3 separate regions of the Homo sapiens genome follow, and regions 1 and 3 are each linked to region 2. Evidence: promoter capture Hi-C in 16 types of primary human blood cells and fetal thymus (Javierre and others, 2016). All regions are on one chromosome and are shown on one strand. The core of a region is centred on a gene start or on the middle of the fragment in contact, and the rest is flanking DNA. Distances in the headings are between cores, read along the strand shown. Region 1 overlaps ZC3H10 (zinc finger CCCH-type containing 10). Region 2 holds the start of CD63 (CD63 molecule). Region 3 overlaps RAB5B (RAB5B, member RAS oncogene family).

Region 1 (4,129 bases), core at 1,171-3,670, 390 kb before region 2:
GGTCAGGATATGGAGACCGTCCTGGCTAACACGGTGAAACCCCGTCTCTACTAAAAATACAAAAAGAAAATTAGCTGGGCACCTATAGTCCCAGCTACTCTGGAGGCTGAGGCAGCAGAATGGCGTAAACCCTGGAGGCAGAGTTTGCAGTGAGCAGAGATCGTGCCACTGCACTGAAGCCTGGGCCACACAGCTAGACTCCGTCTCAAAAAAAAAAAAAAAAAAAAAGTTAGCCATTATTCTAGAAATCCCTTTTTACTTCCTGTGTAGCAAACAGGATCTTCCTCCACTGGGCAGCCCTTCAAATATTTGAAGACTTCTATTTGAAGCTTTCTCTTGCCAGCCTTTTTTTTCTAGCAACACACTGGTTTGTCAATGGCCCTCTTTAAAAATTACATTTAGAACAACACACTACTAAGTGGTTACACTTAGGCAGAACATAGAACTGCTGTATTTGTAATCTATTACCAAGGTTCTACTACCCTTATGGAGCTCCTAGAAAGATGCCTAGAACATAGCAGGCTCTTAATAAATATTTATAAATGGACATCTTGAGGGCTAAGATTCTATTTTTTTGCAGCCAACTGGAAGTCCCAGTTTGTTCTCATGTGAATTATTGCTAATATAAATCTCTAACATTGTTCCTCAAACTAGTTCAAGATCTAAGCAATTTTTTAGTGTGAGAGTGCTCCAGTGTTTTAGTCAATTCAAGTTACAGACACTTTGAATATTATTTAGCTCTTCCTGTGTTACTGTTGATAAATGGGTTTTTTACATGTTTACCCGAGTTGGGTTTTTTCTTTTTACAATAAAACATAGCCCTTGGGCTTATCACTAGAGAACAGAGATTTCTCTAACATAAATGCGCTAACCAACACTAAGTACAAGTGTTCAGTTTGATTCTACCAAATGCTACTATTTTTTTCTCATTATTTTTTAACCAGAGCCATTTGCATGGAAAAAATGCTACGATTAACTGACCCGTAATTTTCCTCTTATCTGTGATGACTTAGCAGGTGAGAGAGAGGAAAGTAGCTCCTGTAATCTGGGAACTGGCCTGACACAGCCAGGCTTCAGAGCTGTTAGGGCTGACCTGGTGCTCACAGGTAGCCAATGAGTTCTCTTGGACACAAACAATCTCACAAAACACCAGCATCAGACAAGGTCACTCAGTGACTGCGATGAAGTGAGACAAAAAACAAAATCACTACACAATTTTGTTTAAGCACAAAACAAGGTCAGTGTGCAAACCACAAAACAGCAAACATCCCCTTTCCCAGCTAGTGAGTGACTTCATCATCGACTGTGCTTAGGTTCACTTGTCTGCCCTTCTTCTAGACAAGCTACCCAATTATCCTGGATTCCCTTAACAGCACCCAATCCAAAAGAACACCCACTTTCTTGAATCTTCCCCAAAATCACTTAACCAAAGTCTAAGTTCTCTAAGTCGTTCCTAACACCCTCATGCTGAGACACACCACGTTATCCCCAATGGTGAGCCCTCCCCCTCACTGCAATGAGCATTAAACCCAACTTGCTCAATTACCAGGTGTATTCTTGGTGGTCTTCAGCTGGAGTAAATACATACAAGACATACAATGTCTAAAATTTCCCAAATCTACCTCTTTGGAGATAACCTGGCAAGGAGGAAATAAAGTCAGTCAGGATTTGACTGAGAATTCATGTTGGTATCTATGGTTACATTCTTCTCTAAATGCTCTTAAACCATCTCTTTTAATAGTCTAGAATTGCCGGGCACGGTGGTTCATGCCTGTAATCCCAGCACTTTGGGAGGCTGAGGCGGGCGGATCACGAGAGATAGAGACCATTCTGGCCAACACGATGAAACCCCGTCTCTACTAAAAATAAAAAAATTAGCCGGGCGTGGTGGCGGGCGCCTGTAGTCTCAGCTACTCGGGAGGCTGACGCAAGAGAATCGCTTGAACCCAGGAGGCGCAGGTTACAGTGAACCGAGATTGCGCCACTGCACTCCGGTCTGGTGACTGGGCAAGACTCCATCTCAAAAAAAAAAAAAAAAATTGTGTCCCAAAAAACATTAAGCTTATCAATGTGTTGTTTCTAAAATCCACAATGTTAGCCCACTTTTAGTCTTTAGGCTTTTTTTTTTAATGACTGGCCTTGACCTAGCCCACCATCTCCAATCCCAGATGTGACCTGAGTGATCAACCAGACAAGAAAGCAAGAGGTAGCAGGAGACATGATGAGGGGGAACACAATCCAGGATCACTCTCTACCCCCAAATCTACTGTCCCATTAGACTAGACACCTGAGTTGTTTTCCCTACATCAGCCGTGAGCTGAGGAGGAACTGAGGTTTGACTATTGGGGCCCCTGGCCTTACTGACTTAAGTAGATTTAAAACTTCTGGTCCTATGTGGAGACAGAGGAAAGGGATGGACCCTGAGGCTTGTGTCCCTAGAAGGACTCTCTTTTCCCAGACCTCCCAAGCCTTGAAGGCTTCAGGAACTGGCCACTGAAGGGGTGGGGTAGGAGGGACATTAACTGCCATCAACTGAGCGGCAACTGCCATCAACTCAATGGCCATCAACTCCACCTGTCCTGCTCTGTTTGAATAAGGATCTGTCAACTATGTAACATCCCATCCGCATTTCAGCAAATACACTCTCCTTACTGCCTGCCCTGCTAAATGACCCTAGGAGCCCTGGTTACTGAGGCAACCTGGGAATAGCACATACAGACAGAGACCAGAAACAGATGGGACTATTTTTAAAACTAGACTGGGTGGCTCCAAAGCTTTTACCCCATAAAGTGCCTTCCCCAAAGCCCCATTTGGTCTTGTTCTGGGTCCCTACCCTTCTTCACTGGCTTCTATCCATCTTACCAAAGCTATGTGAGGCTGGGGTCTTTATCCCATTTTGGCATGAGATCTATTTACTGCTCCCATCTTCCACACAGAATAGCTAAGCAAGTTTTCACTGCCTCCATTTGTTAAAAATAATTGTTCTTTTATTTCTTTGGAAAGTAGTGGGCCCTGCCCTATGGATTTTCAGGTCAAACTAGGGTAATGAATGCTCCCCTAGTCTTTGGGCTGGAGCACTATGGTCCCAGCTTTCCCAGGGCCCAGAAGCAATTCCTGTATTGTCCAACCCAAGCAACTAGGACCCAAATTGTCTGAAGGCTCCTATCAGGCCTTCTCTCCTGACCACCCACTTCCCAATCTTTCCTGGCTTTCCCTCTGGGCAGGGTATTTTTTTCTTCTAAAACCAGTGCTGGAACCTGTGCTGTGCAGAAGAGAGGACAAGACGAGGGATGTTCCCAAATTCCCATAAGAGGACACAGCCCCTCAGTCAGTCCTTCCTCTCTGCTGGCTTCAGTCTGCACTCCTCTGCAAGCCCCCACTGTGAGGCTTGAAGATGGACAAGAGGACCCTCATAAAAGGGAGGTGAGAGAAAACACACCATCCCAACCCCTCCTCAGGACATACTCCTTGTAGTCTCTTGTCCTAGTTCTCAAGGGAGCCCTTCAGACAGGGATGGGGAAGGCTAGGTGAGTGGGCAAGGGCCCCCTGACCCCAGCCCTGCGAGGCTATACCAGGGGAGTGTCCATTAGCCCCATCAGTGTGGCATGGCCGTGATGCGCATGCTCTGGGAAGCGATAGGGTAAGTCACCATGGGAGTGGTGGTGTGGCTCATTGTGATTCCTGCCAAGGGTTGGGCCATCGATACAGCCACAGGGGCCACAGGAGCCACAGATACAGCCACAGGAGCCATGGAGACAGGTGGAGGTGCCATTCCCTGGGCAATTGTTTGAGCCAGGGCAGCTGACAGTGGCGTGATCTCTGGGGTCAAGTGTGGGGGTGGGGGTGGTGGAGCAGCAGGAGGTGCAGCATTAGTTGGGGGAGCAGCTGGAGCTCCAGCAGGGGCCACCAGTTCTTGCTGGGACACTGGACGAGGCTGTAGAGCCTGGCTGCTGAGAGTAGTGTGAGTCTGGGCAATGCCATGGTTAAAAGTGGCAACAGTGCCCACAGTGGGGGCCAGAGTCTGCTCAGTCGCTGGTGCAGTGGAGCTCAGGGTTATGACCTTGGCCTGATTGCGGAACTGAGCATTTTGTTCCAGTAGTACCTCATTGGTGGCCAGCAGGTTGCTGAC
Region 2 (4,315 bases), core at 1,816-4,315:
GCTGGAGTGCAATGGCACAATATCGGCTCTACTAAAAATACAAAATTATCCAGGCATGGTGGCGCATGCCTGTAATCCCGGCTACTCAGGAGGCTGAGGCAGGAGAATCTCTTGAACCTGGGAGGCAGAGGTTGTGGTGAGTTGTGCCACTGCACTCCAGCCTGGGCAACAAGAGCAAAACTCCATCTCAAAAACAAAAACAAAAACAAAAAACCTAGATGTTTATGGTTAAGGAAACAAATTAATAATAATAAAAAAGATAATATCGATTCTTACAAAATACAGTAATTAAGAAAATTAATCCTTTATCACAAACTTTTGTAGCAGAGCACATCTCTCCATATATACAAGCATTATACCGAGGGTGAATGTGTTCCTCCTCTTACTTTTTTTTTTTGAGACAGAGTTTTGCCGGGCACAGTGGCTCACGCCTGTAATCCCAGCACTTTGGAAGGCTGAGGGGGCGGATCACGAGGTCAATAGATGGAGACCATCCTGGCCAATATGGTGAAACCCCATCTCTACTAAAAACACAAAAATTAGCTGGGCGTAGTGGTGCGTGCCTGTAGTCCCAGCTACTTGGGAGGCTGAGGCAGGAGAATCACTTGAACACGGGAGGCGGAGGTTGCAGTGAGCCAAGATGGCACCACTGCACTCCACCCTGGTGACAGAGCGAGACTCCGTCTCAAAAAAAAAAAAAAAAAAAAGAGAGACGGAGTTTCACTCTTGTTGCCCAGGATGGCATGCAGCAACACGATCTCTGCTCACTGCAACCTCTGCCTCCTGGGTTCAAGTGATTCTCCTGCCTCAGCCTCCTGAGTAGCTGGGACTACAGGCACACATCATTGTGCCCAGCTACTTTTTGTATTTTTAGTAGAGACGGGGTTTCACCGTGTTGGCCAGGCTGGTCTCGAACTCCTGACCTCAGGTGATCCACCTGCCTAGGCCTCCCAAAATGCTGGGATTACAGGTGTGGTGAGCCACTGCGCCTAGCCCCTCCTCTTACTTTGGGGAACATCCTACTCTGTCTATGGAGCAGCTGTTGTTTCACCACTTTACTTTCTTAATAAACTTGCTTATACTTTGCACTGCGACTCGCCCTGAATCTTTCTTGCATGAGATCCAAGAACCCTCTCTTGTGGTCTGGATTGGGACCCCTTTCCTGTAACAAATGCATTGGCTGATAGGAGAATAAAGAAAAAAAAAGAGGAAAAACTAGAGTAACTTCTCTACATAATCATATTATATGACCGTTTTGTTAACCATGATAACAGTTAACAAAATAATTTTCTTATGTCTAATTCTCAGTCCATGTCTGTATGTCCCAAAATGTCTTTCACAGCTGGTTTGTTCAACCATTCAATGAAGGACCAAACATTGCAGTTGGTTGTTATGTATCTAGTCTCTCAATCTTGATCTTCAGACCACCTTCAGCCCATCTCACCACATCCGTCCCAAGCCCTTTGAGCCAGCCAACCCCAACCTGCCATGTACTTTACAAAATGCTCCTTTTTTTTCCACAGTCGACTGCTTCTCTGTCCCTGGAGCTCTCCCCTTTATTCTCCAAGGTCACCTTGAGCACATCCTTCTGCTCCGTGAAATCCATTCTCCTCTCCCTTTCCCTCCCTCTGAGCTTAACCAGCTGCCACCGCAGGCTTCTGCCTTTCTTCACAGTGTGGCCAGAACTCGGTTCTGCCTGCTAGCAGAGGGCAGGGCCGCTGTCTTCCTCTCCTTGCAGCCCCCAAGCCTAGCACATGCCTGGCATCTAGTGGCAGCACAATAAGGAACCTGATGAATACTCCTTTCTTCTGCTCTCCGCTCCTCCTCCACAGCCTGCCAGCCATGGTCAGGAAGAGCAAGATCCGGAATGGGCTTGGTGTGTCCCGCGGGAAGGCCGTGATCCTGGAAGATGCTTCTCAGCCCAGCCCGGATCTCCTTCCTTTAGCTCTAGAGACTTCTTTCATTCTTTGTGTACACACATACACTAAGACTCAGGAAGTGGTTCTTGAGGCAGGACCTTAAGAGCCCAAGGAGTGGGGCCGAGGCTGGAGGTGTGGGGGTGTGACGGCCGGTCCTACTCTCCGGCCTGTTCAGATCAGCTCCTTCTGGGGACCACCCCTGGCACACAAGGGAGGGAGGCAGCTTGATCCCCCTAGCCCGCTTCCAGCCCTCACCTGGCTTTGTCTTCTGGGATAAGACGGGGAAATCCAGAGGATGTAAGCCTCTCCTGCCTTCGTGTCTTCCCCCAAGCCCTCGCTATCACAGACGGATGCAGGAGCTGTCTGGGAGGCTGGAAGCACAGACCTTGTCAATCCTCCCCCAGAGGGCGGGACCCGACGCGGACGTGTCTTGATTGACTGGGTAGCGTGGCTTCGGGGAAGGGCTTCCTCCCCTTTTCTCAGACTAGGATCCCTGGAAAATGGAGAAGCTGTGCTAATAGAGGGGGGCCAGAAATCCCCACTCTAGAATGCTGTAGAATGTTGGGAGACACCCAGGATGTGAGCCAGGGACTTTCTGGAAGTGTTTGTTCTGGCCCCACCCGACCCCAGGCAGTCCCCAGCTGTCTGCACAGTCGGATGGGGAGGGGGCTTGCACAGAGTTGGAGCCAGAGGAGAGAGCTGGCTCATCCCCTACGGTAGGATGGGGAAACCTCACAGACCACATTGTCACCCGGCCTCAGCTCTCCGCCCCGGCGCTCAGAGGGTAACTCTCACCCACCTCGTCCGCTTCTCTGAACCAGAGTGACCCAGGCTGCGCTCCGCCCCGCTCTCCTACCCCGAGTTGGCACGGAGGTATAGCGCCAGAGGGGGGCCCCAGGCGCCCCGAGGTCTTGCCCTTGCGGCTTTCCCTTTGCGGGGGTGGGCGCCTTCTTCCGGGTAGGGGCCACGTGGCCCTGGCCGGGCGGGGGGCTCGGCCCACCCCGCGCCGGGCCCAGTGACTCAGGCCGCAGCTGTTACCGCGTCACATGAGGGAGGCCGGCGGCCACTCGGCGGGGGAGGGGACCGTGGCTGGAGCCCGGGGCGGGGCCGCGCGGCAGGCGGGGCGGGAGCCGGGGGGCGCAGCTAGAGAGCCCCGGAGCCGCGGCGGGAGAGGAACGCGCAGCCAGCCTTGGGAAGCCCAGGTGAGGCCGCGGGGACCCGGCGGACTTCGGCGCGGGCTGGGAGAGACCACCCGCAGTCCCTTCCTCCAGGGCTCGCCCCAGGCCCGCGGAGACTCGTCCGGCGCTCTCCAGCCGCCCTGGAGCAACTTTGCTTCGAAGTTCCCTGGGCCCGGGCAGGGTGTGGCGGGGGTGCTGGCTGCACTTTTTTTTTTTTTGGTGGGCGGGGAGGTCAGAGCCCAGGGGAAAGGGGCTGGGGCGGGGGTCGGGGTTGGGCTGAAGACCGTTTCTCCAGGCTGGGTGTTGGGTGGGGAAAGGGTGTTTGACGCCCGGAGACTGGCGGGCCGAGGGTCGGCGTCAGGCTCAAGCCCCTGCCGGCGCCCTTGGATCTGTCCTGGGCCCCAGAGGCGGCGGGGCGGGGTCCGGGCTTCGCGGCCGTCGCCCCCACCCCTCTCCTGCGGGTAAAGAGGGGGCTGGGAGACGTGGATCCGACCGCGGGTTTCCGGGTGGGAGGGGCCGGGAATCGGGGCCGTGAAGGGAAGCCCTCGAGGGCCGGCCGGGAGCCCGGAAACCGAGGTCCCCCTTCGGCCAGTTTTAATCCCCCCGCCCTCCCCTCTGCCCCAGGCCCGGCAGCCATGGCGGTGGAAGGAGGAATGAAATGTGTGAAGTTCTTGCTCTACGTCCTCCTGCTGGCCTTTTGCGTGAGTGGCGAGGGGTCCTGGGGGGCGCGCCGGCAGGGTGCGGGGAGACCTGGCTCCACAGTGGTGAGGGCTGAGGGAATGAGAATTAAGGCAGCTGGAGACCAGATGTGGAAAGAAAGCCAGGGAAAGACAGCGCAGCCACTCCCTCCTCCAGTTTTCCTGGACACCTGAGGCTTGTTTCCACCGAGAATGGCCATCCTGGGTGTGCAGCAACCCCTACCCCCATCCCTCCTGGCCCTTCCTGTCTGGTGACCCAACCACTTGTGATATGGGGCAGTGGGGCAACCAGCCAACCGCCTGATGCTATCGCCATGGGGCTTCCCTTCGCTCTCCCTTCTCCCCTCTCTCCCTCCCCAACCCTCTCATCCCTGTCCAGCCCCTCTCCCCCTTTCCCTCCTCCCAGCGCTTGGGGGTGAGGAAGGGCTCTGCCCACTTCAATTTGCTCCTGCCCTGGGCTCCTGGCTTGAGAGGCTACTGTTTGTCTAGGGAGGGACACATCACTCTTGCTCCCTTTTCC
Region 3 (4,165 bases), core at 422-2,921, 260 kb before region 2:
GCTTGAACTGGGGAAGCGGAAGTTGCAATGGGCAACCACTGCACCACTGCACTCCAGCCTGGGCAACAGGGTGAGACTCAGTATCCAAAAAAAAAAAAAAAAAAAAAAAGAATTAATTAGAAGATTTTAAAGCTTGATGGCAAGTCCCATCATTATCAATATTATTTGGCTGTTACTTTTTCATATAATCTGCTGCAGGTCCAGGAATACATTTCCAAGATGACTAATAAAAAGGGGAAAGAGGCCAGGCACGGTGGCTCATGCTTGTAATCCCAGCACTTTGGGAGGCCGAGGCGGGTGGATCACTTGAAGTCAGGAGTTTGAGACCAGCCTGGCCAACACGGTGAAACCCTGTCTCTATACAAATACAAAAATTAGCCGGGCATGGTGGTATGTGCCTGTAATCTCCGCTGCTCAGGAGGCTGAGGCACGAGAATCACTTGAACCTGGGAGGCAGAAGTTGCAATGAGCCAAGATTGCACCACTGCACTCCAGTCTGGGCGACAGAGACTCCGTCTCAAAAATAAATAAATAAATAAATAAAAATAACAAGGGGAAGGAATAATTTGGAAGTTCTCATAAAAGATCCTTTATTGAATTAGCACCCTATTTTGGGGTAGTAGTGGGGAAAAGGTAGCAAAGATGAGAAAGACAGACACCCTTTGTATTTTGCATTAGTTCCAGCCTCTATTTTACCAGATTTTTTTTTGTTTTTGAAACAGTCTCGCTCCTTCGCCTAGGATAAAATGCACTGGCGTGATTTTGGCTCACTGCAACCTCCGCCTCATGAGTTCAAGCGAGTCTCCTGCCTCAGCTTCCCAAGTAGCTGGGATTACAGGCATGTGCCACCATGCCCGGCTAATCTTTGTTGTTGTTGTTGTTGTTTTGTTTTTTTGAGACGGATTTTCACTCTAGTCACCCAGGCTGGAGTGCAATGGCGCAATCTTGGCTCACTGCAACCTCCATCTCCTGGGTTCAAGTAGTTCTCCTACCTCAGCCTCCTGAGTAGCTGGAATTATAGGCATGTGCCACCACGCCCAGCTAATTTTTTGTATTTTTAGTAGAGACGGGGATTTCACCTTGTTGGCCAGGCTGGTCTTGAACTCCTGGCCTCAAGTGATCCGCCTGCCTTGGCCTCCCAAATGCTGGGATTACAGGTGTGACCCACCATGCCCAGCCTATTTTACCAGATTTTGATTTTTTTTTTTTTTTGGAGATGGAGTTTTGCTCTTGTCGCCCAGGGTGGAGTGCAGTGGCGCAATCTCGGCTCACTACAACCTCTGCCCCCTGGGTTCAAGTGATTCTCCTGCCTTAGCCTCCCGAGTAGCTGGGATTACAGGCGCCTGCCACCACGCCTGGCTAATTTTTTGTATTTTTAGTAGAGACAGGATTTCGCCATGTTGGGCAGGCTGGTCTCGAACTCCTGACCTCAGGTGATCCGCCCATCTTGGCCTCCCAAAGTGGTGGGCCACTGGGACCGGCCTCTGTTTTTATAAAGGGTTTCCATTTCTGGGGAAAAGAATGGGACTAAGAGGGCCAGCTCCATAATCAGGTCTTATATCTCTTTTCAAAAGCCTTACCGGCCCGGCGTGGTGACTCACGCCTGTAATCCCAGCACTTTGGGAGGCCGAGGCAGGCAGATCACCTGAGGTCAGGAGTTTGAGACCAACCTGGCCAACATGATGGTGAAACCCCCTCTCCACTAAAAATACAAAAATTAGACAGGTGCCACGGTGTGCACCTGTAATCCCAGTTACTCGGGAGGCTGAGGCATGAGAATCGCTCGAACCTGGGAGACAGAGGTTGCAGTAAGCCAAGATTGCGCCACTGCACTCCAGCCTGGGTAACAGAGCAAGACTCCATCTAAAAAAAAAAAAACCCTTACCAAACATTCAATCTCCTATTACCCCAAGGCACTCACCTCCAATGGTGCTCTCCTGGTACTCATGGAACTGCCCTTTGACAAAACGTAATACCAGGCTTGACTTTCCCACTGCAGATTCTCCCAGCAGGACCAATTTGAACTGGCAAATTTTGCTGGCCTGGGGTTGCCCATTGGGCCTAGCTGTGCTTCTGCTAGTCATGGCCAGATTATCAGAATGGGAAAGGGTGGAGGGAGGGGGATACTGTAAAGGGGGGAGGGGGAAGGGGAGGGGATTTCCAGGCTTCAACACTCCTGCAAGAAAAAAAAGTGAATAAAATTAAACATACGTCCATTGAAGCTGCAATCGCTTTTCAGAGAAGGATAGAACCTCTTCATCTCCTTGCTTCTATGAGGACTTAGCTCTGAGAAGGTCCCAGGCAGCTGATCCTCAGTGGTAAGAGTTGGGAAGAGCAAAATAAGAACTGCTTCTGGAGTCTGCCCTACCACATAATCTCTAACTGCCAAGGGAGCCGAAATAGAGAGACTGAAAACTGAGAGTTTTTAATTCCCCAGTAATTCCCCACCAGGTCTTCAAAGTTTTTTGTTTGAGTCACACAAAGTGATCAACCTTTAGCTGGCCTGAAGAATATCCAGATCCACCCACCGGTACCCTAGATCCCCAGTATCTCCTTGGCATCCTGGTGCTGTGCTCTTCTTTTCCTTTTCTTCTTTTTTTTTGAGACGTCACTCTTGTTGCCCAGGCTGGAGTGCAATGGCACAATCTTGGCTCACCACAACCTCTGCCTCCCGGGTTCAAGCAATTCTCCCACCTCAGTCTCCCGAGTAGCTGGGATTACAGGCATGCACCACCACGCCTGGCTAATTTTGTATTTTTAGTAGAGACGGAGTTTCTCCATGTTGGTCAGACTAGTCTAAGAAGTCCTGACCTCAGGTGATCTGCCCGCCTTGGCCTTCCAAAGTGCTGATATTACAGGCATGAGCCACCGTGCCTGGCCTTCTTTTCATTTTTCCTTAGCTCTTTGTCAAAATGAGAGATTCACTCTAGGGGTGTGGGATAAGAGTCACCACTCCTAAGGGCAGAAGGGTAGTTGCTGCTGTATCCTTTATATATGACCGGTCTCCCTGATAAGACATTTCTAAAGATCTAACCAGGGTCCCATTGCCACAAAATCTATCCTTTCTCATTTTTGGTTGAAGGTAAAGAGAGAAATACAACCAACAGATCACATTCATTATCAACTCTTTGTTTCATTAACAACTCTTTTTTCACTTTGTTTCTGCCATCTTTCCAAATCTGAAAGTCTATCAAGAATCAGTAAGCTTGACCTACTCTCAACTTGCAGCTGTCTTGCTGGTGCCTAGGGATTAGATTACCCTCCACACCAAAGGGGCCTAACAGCTGTAGCCCTCCAAATTAGAGGCAGAGAAAGGTATACCTTCTAAAGACATGCAGAAGTCTCCAGAGGATGGTATAGGGCGTTAAGTCTGCAAGCAATCAGTATTTGATGAAAGAATACACTGAATCAGCTCCTCTATCTTCTAAGAGGGCTAAGAAAGCTGCTGGTGGGGCAGGGAACAGAGAGAAGAGTTGGGACTTTGAGATTCTAATCGTCTAAATCTGAATACATTTCATCATCCTGACTCTGAGCGGAAAGGAACTATGAAATTCAAAGGGAAGTTAGCATAGGCAGAGCATGCAAAAACCTCTCTCCCAAACCTAAGCATTGCTTGAGAGTTGTACTTTGCTTGTTCAAATTACTCTTTCGCTTTTCCAAAGCAGATCCTAGTGACTTCACAGACATCATACTCTATGGCATATGTGGGGAAACATCATTATTTTGTCACCACAATTAGTGGGACTGGAGTTAAACTGGGGTTAAAAATTTTCAGTAACCCCACTTACTAGATCGTAAAGACAGAAAATCATACAGGAGGCAATTCAGAGGAATAAAGGCTCTGGAGTCCAATTCTCCACGTTTGTTTTTCAGCTCTACTTACTAGCTATGAACCTTGAGCAAGTCACTAAATATATGTGTGCATTCATTTCCTCATCTGTAAAATGAGATAATAGCCTTATAAGCACCTACTTCATAAGGGTGTTGTAAGGATTAAATGAGATAATGCATATAAATAACTAAAGTATTTTAAGTATTTGATAGATACTAAGTGCTAAATAAATATTAAGCTACTAATCATTACTAATATGATATAAAGAGAATTTCTCTACCTCTCTAAGCCTTACCTTCTACCTTTGTAAAATGGAAAAAATACCATCCTCAT

What was found. Contacts are between HindIII fragments. The CHiCAGO score rates a contact against its expected background, and 5 or more counts as called.
Region 1: a fragment that was not itself captured here is called in contact with the fragment with the promoter of CD63 in region 2 in 1 of 17 cell types (fetal thymus); the score reaches 5.5 in fetal thymus.
Region 3: a fragment that was not itself captured here is called in contact with the fragment with the promoter of CD63 in region 2 in 1 of 17 cell types (naive CD4 T cells); the score reaches 5.1 in naive CD4 T cells.

The regions. Positions count from the first base shown.
Region 1 is chr12:56,121,334-56,125,462 of GRCh38, reverse strand. It overlaps ZC3H10 (zinc finger CCCH-type containing 10), which reads right to left. Exons shown (of 3, transcript NM_032786.3): 3 at 1-4,129. The coding sequence ends at 3,596. Among named protein-coding and RNA genes, the nearest start is that of ESYT1, 4.9 kb to the left of the region's middle. RefSeq lists an enhancer at 3,311-4,129. The HindIII fragment of the contact is 713 bases long and covers 2,064-2,776 here.
Region 2 is chr12:55,727,759-55,732,073 of GRCh38, reverse strand. CD63 (CD63 molecule) reads left to right here and starts at 3,065. Exons shown (of 8, transcript NM_001780.6): 1 at 3,065-3,121; 2 at 3,722-3,798. The coding sequence starts at 3,733. It overlaps CD63-AS1 (CD63 antisense RNA 1), which reads right to left and starts at 2,980. Exons shown (of 2, transcript NR_183514.1): 1 at 2,719-2,980; 2 at 1,222-2,412. RefSeq lists silencers at 2,719-3,098, 3,369-3,668 and an enhancer at 2,633-3,239. The HindIII fragment of the contact is 20,987 bases long and covers 1-4,315 here.
Region 3 is chr12:55,984,880-55,989,044 of GRCh38, reverse strand. It overlaps RAB5B (RAB5B, member RAS oncogene family), which reads right to left. Exons shown (of 6, transcript NM_002868.4): 2 at 1,922-2,176. The coding sequence starts at 2,084. Among named protein-coding and RNA genes, the nearest start is that of SUOX, 10 kb to the left of the region's middle. The HindIII fragment of the contact is 3,073 bases long and covers 135-3,207 here.